Regions from separate parts of the Homo sapiens genome. Here all the other regions are linked to region 2. Evidence: promoter capture Hi-C in 16 types of primary human blood cells and fetal thymus (Javierre and others, 2016). All regions are on one chromosome and are shown on one strand. Each heading gives the region's core, a stretch centred on a gene start or on the middle of the fragment in contact. The rest is flanking DNA. Distances are from core to core; before and after follow the strand shown.

Region 1 (2,863 bases), core at 45-2,544, 230 kb before region 2:
TTAAGGTATAAGTTTTTTGTTAAGAGAAATAACGTTTAAGAAAATCTGTCAGTAGAAAAAAGTCTGTTTAACAATTAGCAAACTTGCCAACAAGCTTCAAAGCTCAAATTAATAATTAACATGCCTATTGTGTAGAAATCCAAAAAGCTGGGTAATTCGAAGAAAGGAATAGTCACAAGAGATGGTGACAAGTTAAGTGCTAAGAACACTTACGTGTGACTCTGGCCTTAATTTTTCTATTTTGGGCAGGAAAAAAAAATACAGGAACAAGCTGCTACCATATTATTTATTTTTGTTTAGCCACCAACGTATGTGAGTTTTAGTTTCAATTAGAAGTTCACGCTGATTGAAGTAGAGAAGTATAGTTTTGCTCCATATACATATAAAATGAGGAGAGAGGAAGAGAGTATCCGCCTAGCCTCTATTTAGGTAAGTTTAGTACCTACCAGCTTCACTGAAAACAAGCTGTGTTCTTAATGGTCAAAGGCCTGATACTCATCTTGACTTACACCTAAGGAAGCCAAGGACGGGGGTAGGGTGGTGGGGGTGGGGTGCGGGGAGAAAGAACTTTATGGAACGATTTCCACATTAAGTGGCACCCTAATGCTGAGGTCATGCACATAGGCAGAGGTGGTGTGAACAAAACTTTTGCTCCTGTTTTGAGCATAGCTGCTTATGTGTGATTTAATTACTGTTCCCTTTGATATCTGCATTTTCTTGTAACTCGTTTTCTCTAAAACATGACATAAAAATCTCAATTCAATGAGCAAGATATAGCGATGCAAATTATACCAAGGGTTTTATAGAAAGTGCAAAATGGTTTTTTGATTTTTTATTTTTGAAGGTAGAAATTAAAAGATTTTTTCCGATTATAGAAAAAAATACTCATTATAAAAACGCTCAGAAAATAGAAGAATAAAAATAAGCACCCACCACCCAAAGATAACTAGCAGTAACACTTTTTCCAGATATTTATCTATGTATATAATATTCAAGATAAATGCACACACGTGTGTATATTTATATGTAGTATATACGTGTGTGAGTATACTTATAATTTTACATTGATTCTTGCACTGTGCATAAGAATGTGTCATAGCTTGCTTTCTATGCCAATAAATATAAGCCTATAATTAATGATATTAGATTCTACTGGATGGATGTATTAGGACTTATTTAGCCAGTCCCTAATGACGGACATTTTGATTGTCCAAAATGAAGACTGAGTGACACCTAGTGGAATCCATAGATGTTTCTATAGGCATGTGTTTTGCCGGTCCAGTTCCTGTACAGTAATATGATGAACACAAAGAGAGAGCAAACTCATTTTTGGAAGGAAAGACCCTAAATTGACTGAGAGAGGAGTCACAGGCCTGTGAACCTAGAAGACCCTGAAAGAGCCTTTGACAGCAAGGTTTTGAGGGACCCTTTAACCTTGTTTGAGTTCAAAATAAAAGTTTACCTGTAACTGGCATGAGCCTAGACCAATAGTTCTAAATTTTTTAACCTAAGCCCTTAGTAAGAAATAAATTTTACATAATGACCCAGTACACACCTGTATATATTTTTATAACTGAAACAAGTGTGTCAAGAAATGGTACTTTGTTTTGCTCTATGCAGTGCACTCTGATATTTTCTGTTTTTTTTTTTTTTAAATGTTGATTACAATCTACTAAATTGATTTTCTGGTCTGCAGCTTGAAAATTATTGTTCTGGAGGACACAGGATATTCAGAACTACTTCAGTGTTTAAAAAGCATGATATATAATATACATATATATATTATAAAATCAATATTGCACAGTGTATTTCTTGAGCCCATTTCTTGTTTTATTCTTCCTCTTGTTTCACAGCTAGAAACACTGTACCATTCTTTACATGTAGTAAATGATGTTAGGGTGTGATAATTCCTTTGTTCCTTAGACAAAAGTGTCAGGAATAGGATATCTACGTTGACATCTAGTTAAGAATGACCTTACTACTTGCTAATAAGTATTTAAATGGCAAAGCTGTATCTCTGTCTCTTAAAGACTACTTATAACAAGGGCTTCAAGCCTAAATTAAGCCACTAAATTCTGCTTAGTGAAGTCCCAGGCAAATCCAACTTAGGTGAACTCTGTGTTAGTGAAAACTCTGCATTCTACTGAAGTTCTACTTTGAGTATCGACATGTTTTAAAATTATCAGTGTTCTAACTGTATCATACAGTAAATTTATTAAAGAAACTCAGGGGTCACAGTAGGTGCTAATGATATGTCTTCATCTTTTTATAGTTGTGTAAAATACTAAAAATACCAGTTCCAAAATAAAATTTTACCATAAGGACTCTTGGGATAGCATTCTGTCTGAAGTCTTAATATGTTCCCAATTCTGCAATGAAATCCCTGTGTATCCTCCTTAATCACAAAAGAAAATTCAACATAATTTCAATTTTAGTTCTTACTTACATAAAAACGTACCCATTTCTTCCTGTTTTATAAGCTGTTCTACCTGATGAAGCTTCTGCTTCATCTCAGGCACGGAAGGTAGCTAGACCTAGACTGTAGAAACTCTAGAGACAGAGGTAGGAAACGCTTCTCTCAGACTCTATCCTGAAGGTTTGAGGTAAGAGGTGGAGAGATGGAATAACATGTTCTATTTCAGTTTATTCATTGTTTCATAACAAAACGTATTTAATTTCAGGTATAATTATAGTTACAAGAAGAGTACAACTAATAGATAAGCATTAGAATCTGATCATGGCTCGACTGCTTTCTAGCTTCCAAAAGTTTGAGTATATTATTCTCTGTCTTACCTGTGGTTTCCTTGTTTGTAAGATGGGGATAATAAACCTAACCTGACATCTTCCCAGTTATTGTGACTGT
Region 2 (3,033 bases), core at 381-2,880:
AGTCCGGTGAATTCCCATACCTCCAGTCATCAGGCACAGTTACTGGTCGGTGCAGGGCAGGCCAGAAGTGACCAAGGCCCAAGAGACTCAGACGGCCATTCACAGGCATCAGGCAGGTGTGATTGTGGGCAGGACAGCAGCTCAGGAGAGAGCCCTCTGACCTCCCCAAAGCTGGTGCCCCCTACAGGCAGCCAAAGCCAACCAGAGATACCTCCTGCAGCCTCTGTGCTGACTGACTCAGCACAGGAGGAACGGAAGGAGGCGGAGGCCCCTAATGTTCCTTCTCATTACCACCCCAAATGCCACTGTCCTCTGGGTGCCCAGCCCATTCAATCCCTAAAATACCTCTTAATGGCCTCTCCCTCATCTGGCCAACTCGATTTCTCTACTCTTCTATGGTGGCTCAGTTAAATGAAACTGAGGGCATTTTATTTCACAATAAAGTCTCATTGGCCAACACGCCGCCCTTAAGCTAAAGATACTTCTGATTGGTCAAACTTGAAGCAGCAATAGGGGCCCGGAGGCATTAACTGTGCCAGTCTGTAGATTCTGAAGCCCACGCCAGCCTCTGATCTAGTTTGGCCTCTCTTTTCCCTATCCCAATTGTTCTGCCTCCACTCAGCAGTCCTGGAGCTCAGTCCTCACCCAGAGAGATGGAGTTGTGACTCAGAGGGCCTAGGTCTCTACCTTCCACTTAGGAATCAAGCCAGAAGCTCCTGAAGCGGAGGTTTGCCCAAAAAAAAGAGTAGTCAGCGATAGTCCTCTCTGAATCATAATTTGATAATGCATTGCTCATCCAGATGGCTGTTTACAATTTAAGAAAAAATATTACCAGGCCCTCCTCCTAACCTGCCCGGCCATGGGGCACACCTTTGCCAATGCACCTTCATTTCTGTCAAAACTCAGTGATATTAGTGACTCCTACCCCCTAAGGCGCCTCCCAAGCGCAATGCTGCAGTCTGTGCGGACAAATTTAGTTCACCCTGGGGTGCCTATTAAGTACATTTCGCAAACGAGGAACTGAGACTTAGTTAACTTGCAGAAGATCACAGAAAAGTTTGAAATCAGCTGGTTGGATTCGCAGCCAGGTCCTGCAGACTCCAGACCCCGCGCCTCCCCGCCCTACTTCTGGGCCCCAAGAGCAGGCCGCGGCAACTTCCAGAAGCCGGGTCTCTGGGGCACCGCGCTCGCGGACCGACCTCAGTCCCATCCCAGCCGCTCCCTGCCTGGGCAGAATGGGGGCCCCGCGGGAACGCGATGTGCTGCCAGTTCACAGCCCGCCCTCCCTCTGCGGGCCGGTACCCGCCGCTGGCGGCGCCGACCTGTGGGAGGCCCAGAGGGCGGGTGAGTGCGGAGCGGAAGGCGCGGGCGAAGCACCGCAGGGGCCTCGCTGACCCCGCCACACGCCGGGCAGGGCTGCAACGGCTCCTTCCGACTGGAGCGGCCGCGCGCTCCTCCGGCCGGCTACTGGCTTCCCTGCTCTCAGGTTCCCGTCTCCGGCTCTCGTGCCCCTTCTTAGCTTCCAGAGCGGAGCCGGGAGGCAAATTCCAAGCGGTTGTGGGACCCACGCCTCACCCGGAACTTTAAGCCCTGCCGTCTCGCCTGGCGCCCAAACTCTGCGGACCTCCACTGGCCGCCCGCCTCTTCCGGCCCCGCGCGCTCCGGGGTCCCGCGGGCTCCCGGCCTCGGGACACTTCCGGTCTTGGGGAACTCCCGGCCCCCTCGCAGTCCCGGCGCCCGGGACACTTCCGGCTCCCGGCAGCTGCCTCAGTCGGAGGTCCGCGGGCGCCCCATGCTGGCAGTGGTAATGCCGCCGGCTGGCATCCGGTTGGCTGCGCGCTGGGAACGCCAGCGAGGCAGCGCCACCGGCTTGAGGAGGGTGAAAGTTCAATTCTTGGCCCCTGAAGTTAGCGGAAGGGAACGGGCATGTTTTGGAAAGGCCCGCCGGGAATTCCCTCAGAAACCAGGCGAAGCTCCCTGCTGGGCCAGGCCCCCCTCGTGTGCTTGAGGAGGATGGGAGCCCGGCCTCGGTTTGTTATCCTAATTAAGTGGAAAATTAAGAAAATAATAGAATAGCGTAAGTACTAATAGTAAAATTATAGTAAGAGAAATAACAATAGCTAGAATGGAATGAATTGCTGTATTAACCAAGGCTAGAAAGAATTTCAGCCCTCCGAAAGTTAAAGCGAGGGAAGAGAGAGACCCTCTCATATTGTTTTATACTCAGTACCTGTTTTTTTTTTTTTTTTTAAAAAAAAAAGGAAGTGAAATCAAAGACAGGCAGCCCAGCGCCAGGCCCAAAACTGGACCTGGGCCTGCCTGGCCTAAACCTAGTAGTTAAAAATCAACTCATGACTTAGAAACCGATGTTATTCATAGATTCCAGACATTCTATAGAAGAACATTGTGAAACTCCCTGCCCTGTTCTGTTTCTCCCTGACCATCGGTGCATGCAGCCCCTGTCACGTACCCCTTGCTTGCTCAAATCAATCACGACCCTTTCATGTGAAATTTTAGTGTTGTGAGCTCTTAAAAGCGACAGAAATTGTGCACTCGGGGAGCTCGGATTTTAAGGCAGTAGCTTGCCAATGCTCCCAGCTGAATAAAGCCCTTTCTTCTACAGCTCCGTGTCTGAGAGGTTTTGTCTGTGGCTTGTCCTGCTACAGTCCTTGGTTCCCTGACCAGGAAGCGAGGTGACTGACAAGCCCTGTGGAGCGTCCCTGCAGAGGACTCCGGCCAGCCTGACTGACGCAATCCAAAGAGCGCTCCCGGGTAGGAAATGGCCCCGGTGGAATGCCTTGCCAGAGCAGCGCATAGCAGGCTCCCGAGAAGGATTAACACTGGCTGAACACCGGGAAGGAACTGGCACTTGAAGTCCAGACATCTGAAGCTTGTCAAGACTAGTTTTTGGAACTTGCCCCACTCCATGTGAGTGGAAGCATGGCCTGATCACCCACGGTGTGCCTGTATTGACATCTTTGTTCTGGTTTTGACTTGGCTTGACTTGGTAAGACTAGTCTTTGGAACTTGCCC
Region 3 (2,928 bases), core at 361-2,860, 210 kb before region 2:
CAGAGGGTAAAATGGAACCAAATAATCACCTCTACACCCTAACTGAGAGGAGGAATCAGCTAGAATACTGAGGCAGTTCAAATTTAGATCCTTTACTCGTCTATTTGTTTAGCTTCTATTCTATAAATTCTGGATAGAAATTTGAAAATGAAAGGTCACATCATTTTGGCTACTTCTTTGTCAAGAGCACCCCTAAACTTATTCCCAAAAGAATATGTATGTTGCCTATTGGGAACCCATATGTTCCAATTTGCCTCATTTTTATAACTTGGCACAAAAATGCAGTTATTGGGTAGCTGTTGAAATAATTGGTCTAATTGTGTTGTCAGCACCTCCTGAGGAAAGTCATAAAACTGGAAACTAGAAAAACTGGTTATGAATGATGTTTTTGAGAATCTAAAATTTTCTTAATTTATTAAGTGCAGCTATCTTACTAAAAAGTACATTTCTTTTCACCTTTTTGTTGAATGTATACGACAATTGCTTGCATTTGTCATTATAATAAGAAAACGTATCAAGCTCCCCACTGTATATTGCTGAGCTTTCCCTGTTAAGTTTGCTTTTATAGCTTTGTTGGTGCCCAAGGGAGCTGAGAGTCCACTGTCATAATCCTACATTCTAGAGGAAGAAGAAAAAGTTTCCAATCCTAGGCCTCTGTGCATTTAATTGCATCCATTGGCTCCATGCCATTTAATTGCATTTGTTGGCTCCATATATAATCTCCAAAGTCATTAAATTTTGTCACTTTCCAATTTAAAAAGGAAGAAATGGAAATGTTCACAAATCCTTCTTGGGCACAACTCCTTGAACCGTTTAATTAATCTACACCCCGAGATTCTTTGCATAAAGGCTCACAGGAGGTATACACTAATGTCAACCCAATTTACAATTGGAAAATCTTTATACATTGAAAAAAGCAACTTTTCCTCCCCCTCTCAATAGGTACAAGAATGCGGGTTTATAAAAGGACACAGTTGAGGCAAGAGACCGGACCCAAAAGTTATGTGCTCTTTAGTGCCTCAAGTTTTCCAAGCATCTCTGGTAACATAAGGAGTAGAAATTATTTTCAAAAACAAAATAATCACTGGTTCCAGACCAGTGATTATTAACCCTTTTTGAATTATGAACCCCTTTAAAACCTAATGAAATTTAAGGACCCTCTCCCCCAAAATATACATATAAAAAAACAAGGCAGTCTATGGACCTACTGAGTAACTCTCAAGATAGTAAGTAAGGAGAGAAAGATCTATGTTTCCCTCTTTGATAAGTATGAAATATTTGGAGGAGATGCTAATTTTTGCACGTTTATGATATTTGCAATCTTTCATTTTTGTAGCAGATTATACTCAAAAATTTGATCCAGAACTTGGCCCCTATTCTTTTATCAGCACTTTAACTTGTAAACTGAAAAGTTTACCATCATCTGTATGACATCCTAATGAGGTTAAAAAGATAAAATGCAGTTATGATTATGATAGGTATAACTGTATCCAGGTTTCCACAGCAAAAACAAAACAAAACATACACCATGTTCTGGGGTTATTGACAGCCTCCTAAAAAAAAAAAAAAAAAAAAAAAGGCATTGCAGAGAAATTACAAAATCATTGCCTGCTTTACCTACTAATTAGTATGTGACTTGCTAGATCACCCCCTAGAGGGTGAAGAAAAGGAAAGAAGAACATGGCAGTTAGTATAGATTTTAGTGAGATCCTTCTTCCCATTAGATTTTGTAGACTAGTGTGGCTTCCTGAATGAGAACCAGATGGAAGAAAGTTCTATGAAATCAATGTTGTAAATACACCAGATTGCTACTGGGATGTCCCTTGCTATTTGTGGGTAGAATTTATAGGATTTCAGTGTAACTTTGTAACTGCAATTCAATTCTGAGTATGTCTGTTTGAGCTGGTTTGTCTATTCTTTGTGTCTAAACTAATGTTACACAGAAATTAAAAAGCTAATTTGTCTTTCTTTTTGTTTAAAAAAAAACAACCAACAATGTCTTTCTCAGCTGACCTTCTGTTCCTCACTCTTTGGTCTCTGGTTGATTGGAAACCTGCTTCTCCTGCCTTCATTTCTCCCTCTTCTTCCGGAGTGGGTCTTTCTCTAAAATGTAGTCTGGTCAGGTAATTCCATTTATATTTCCCCTTTGATTTAAAATGCCAACTTATAACTCAGATGTTCATATTTTCTTAAAAGGACTCTTTAAACTCTTTAAGTGATCTTGAAAGATTCATCGGCAGGATTTATGGGAAGTGCAATCCATTTTCTTAGGTAGAAGAACGTGCATGAGAAGGAAAAATATTTGTCTCATATGAATCAAATAAACAAAGCGATAATAGCTGCTTTCCAGAGCTTCCCTCAGCATGTTCCTAATTATAGTTTCCAAAATTTTAAAACAGTCTTCCAGACAGTTTGGCAGCTTCCACCTACGCTGGCAAATGTAGTGGAATTCTACAAAAATAATCTGATTTGTTGCTTAATGGCTCCAAGTTAAATAGGTGTAACTCTCTAATAGAATATCAGGAATTCATGCCACAGAGGAAATCCAGAAACTCAGTAAAGTTTAGGCAAATCTGAAATGCTTCACAGGTATCATTTAACTGTGCATTTTCAGTGTTACAATCTCAATACTATCTATCAGAAATATGTCCATTTAGATCAGTGTCCACGGGTAAATGCAATTGCTGTTAGCTTTGCCTTCCTCCTGAGAAAAGGGTTTGCCAAGATAAGCATTACTATTTCAGTAAAACACATTTATTTTCTACAAACTACCTTTTGCCAAGTACTAATATAAGCAAATGCTGGAAGAAAAGTAAATTGAAACAGAAATTTGGATCCTTATCCAAATGAAATTAATTAGGAGGTAGTAAATAAAGACTCTAAGCTGTATAACTGTTATCGATCATATTTTAGTGTTTCCATCCCAAG

Evidence for each region. The method cuts DNA at HindIII sites, captures the fragments that hold promoters and counts their contacts. A CHiCAGO score of 5 or more calls a contact.
Region 1: a fragment that was not itself captured here is called in contact with the fragment with the promoter of CYREN in region 2 in 10 of 17 cell types (naive CD8 T cells, naive CD4 T cells, M1 macrophages and 7 more); the score reaches 7.8 in naive CD8 T cells.
Region 3: a fragment that was not itself captured here is called in contact with the fragment with the promoter of CYREN in region 2 in 11 of 17 cell types (total CD8 T cells, naive CD8 T cells, megakaryocytes and 8 more); the score reaches 12.4 in total CD8 T cells.

What each region holds. Positions count from the first base shown.
Region 1 is chr7:134,942,760-134,945,622 of GRCh38, forward strand. All of the region lies in intron 7 of CALD1 (caldesmon 1), which reads left to right. Among named protein-coding and RNA genes, the nearest start is that of AGBL3, 42 kb to the right of the region's middle. The HindIII fragment of the contact is 2,404 bases long and covers 93-2,496 here.
Region 2 is chr7:135,169,077-135,172,109 of GRCh38, forward strand. CYREN (cell cycle regulator of NHEJ) reads right to left here and starts at 1,631. Exons shown (of 4, transcript NM_024033.4): 1 at 1,576-1,631. RefSeq lists enhancers at 1-71, 2,152-2,371 and a silencer at 1,162-1,771. The HindIII fragment of the contact is 3,007 bases long and covers 1-2,888 here.
Region 3 is chr7:134,960,812-134,963,739 of GRCh38, forward strand. All of the region lies in intron 13 of CALD1 (caldesmon 1), which reads left to right. Among named protein-coding and RNA genes, the nearest start is that of AGBL3, 24 kb to the right of the region's middle. The HindIII fragment of the contact is 8,794 bases long and covers 1-2,928 here.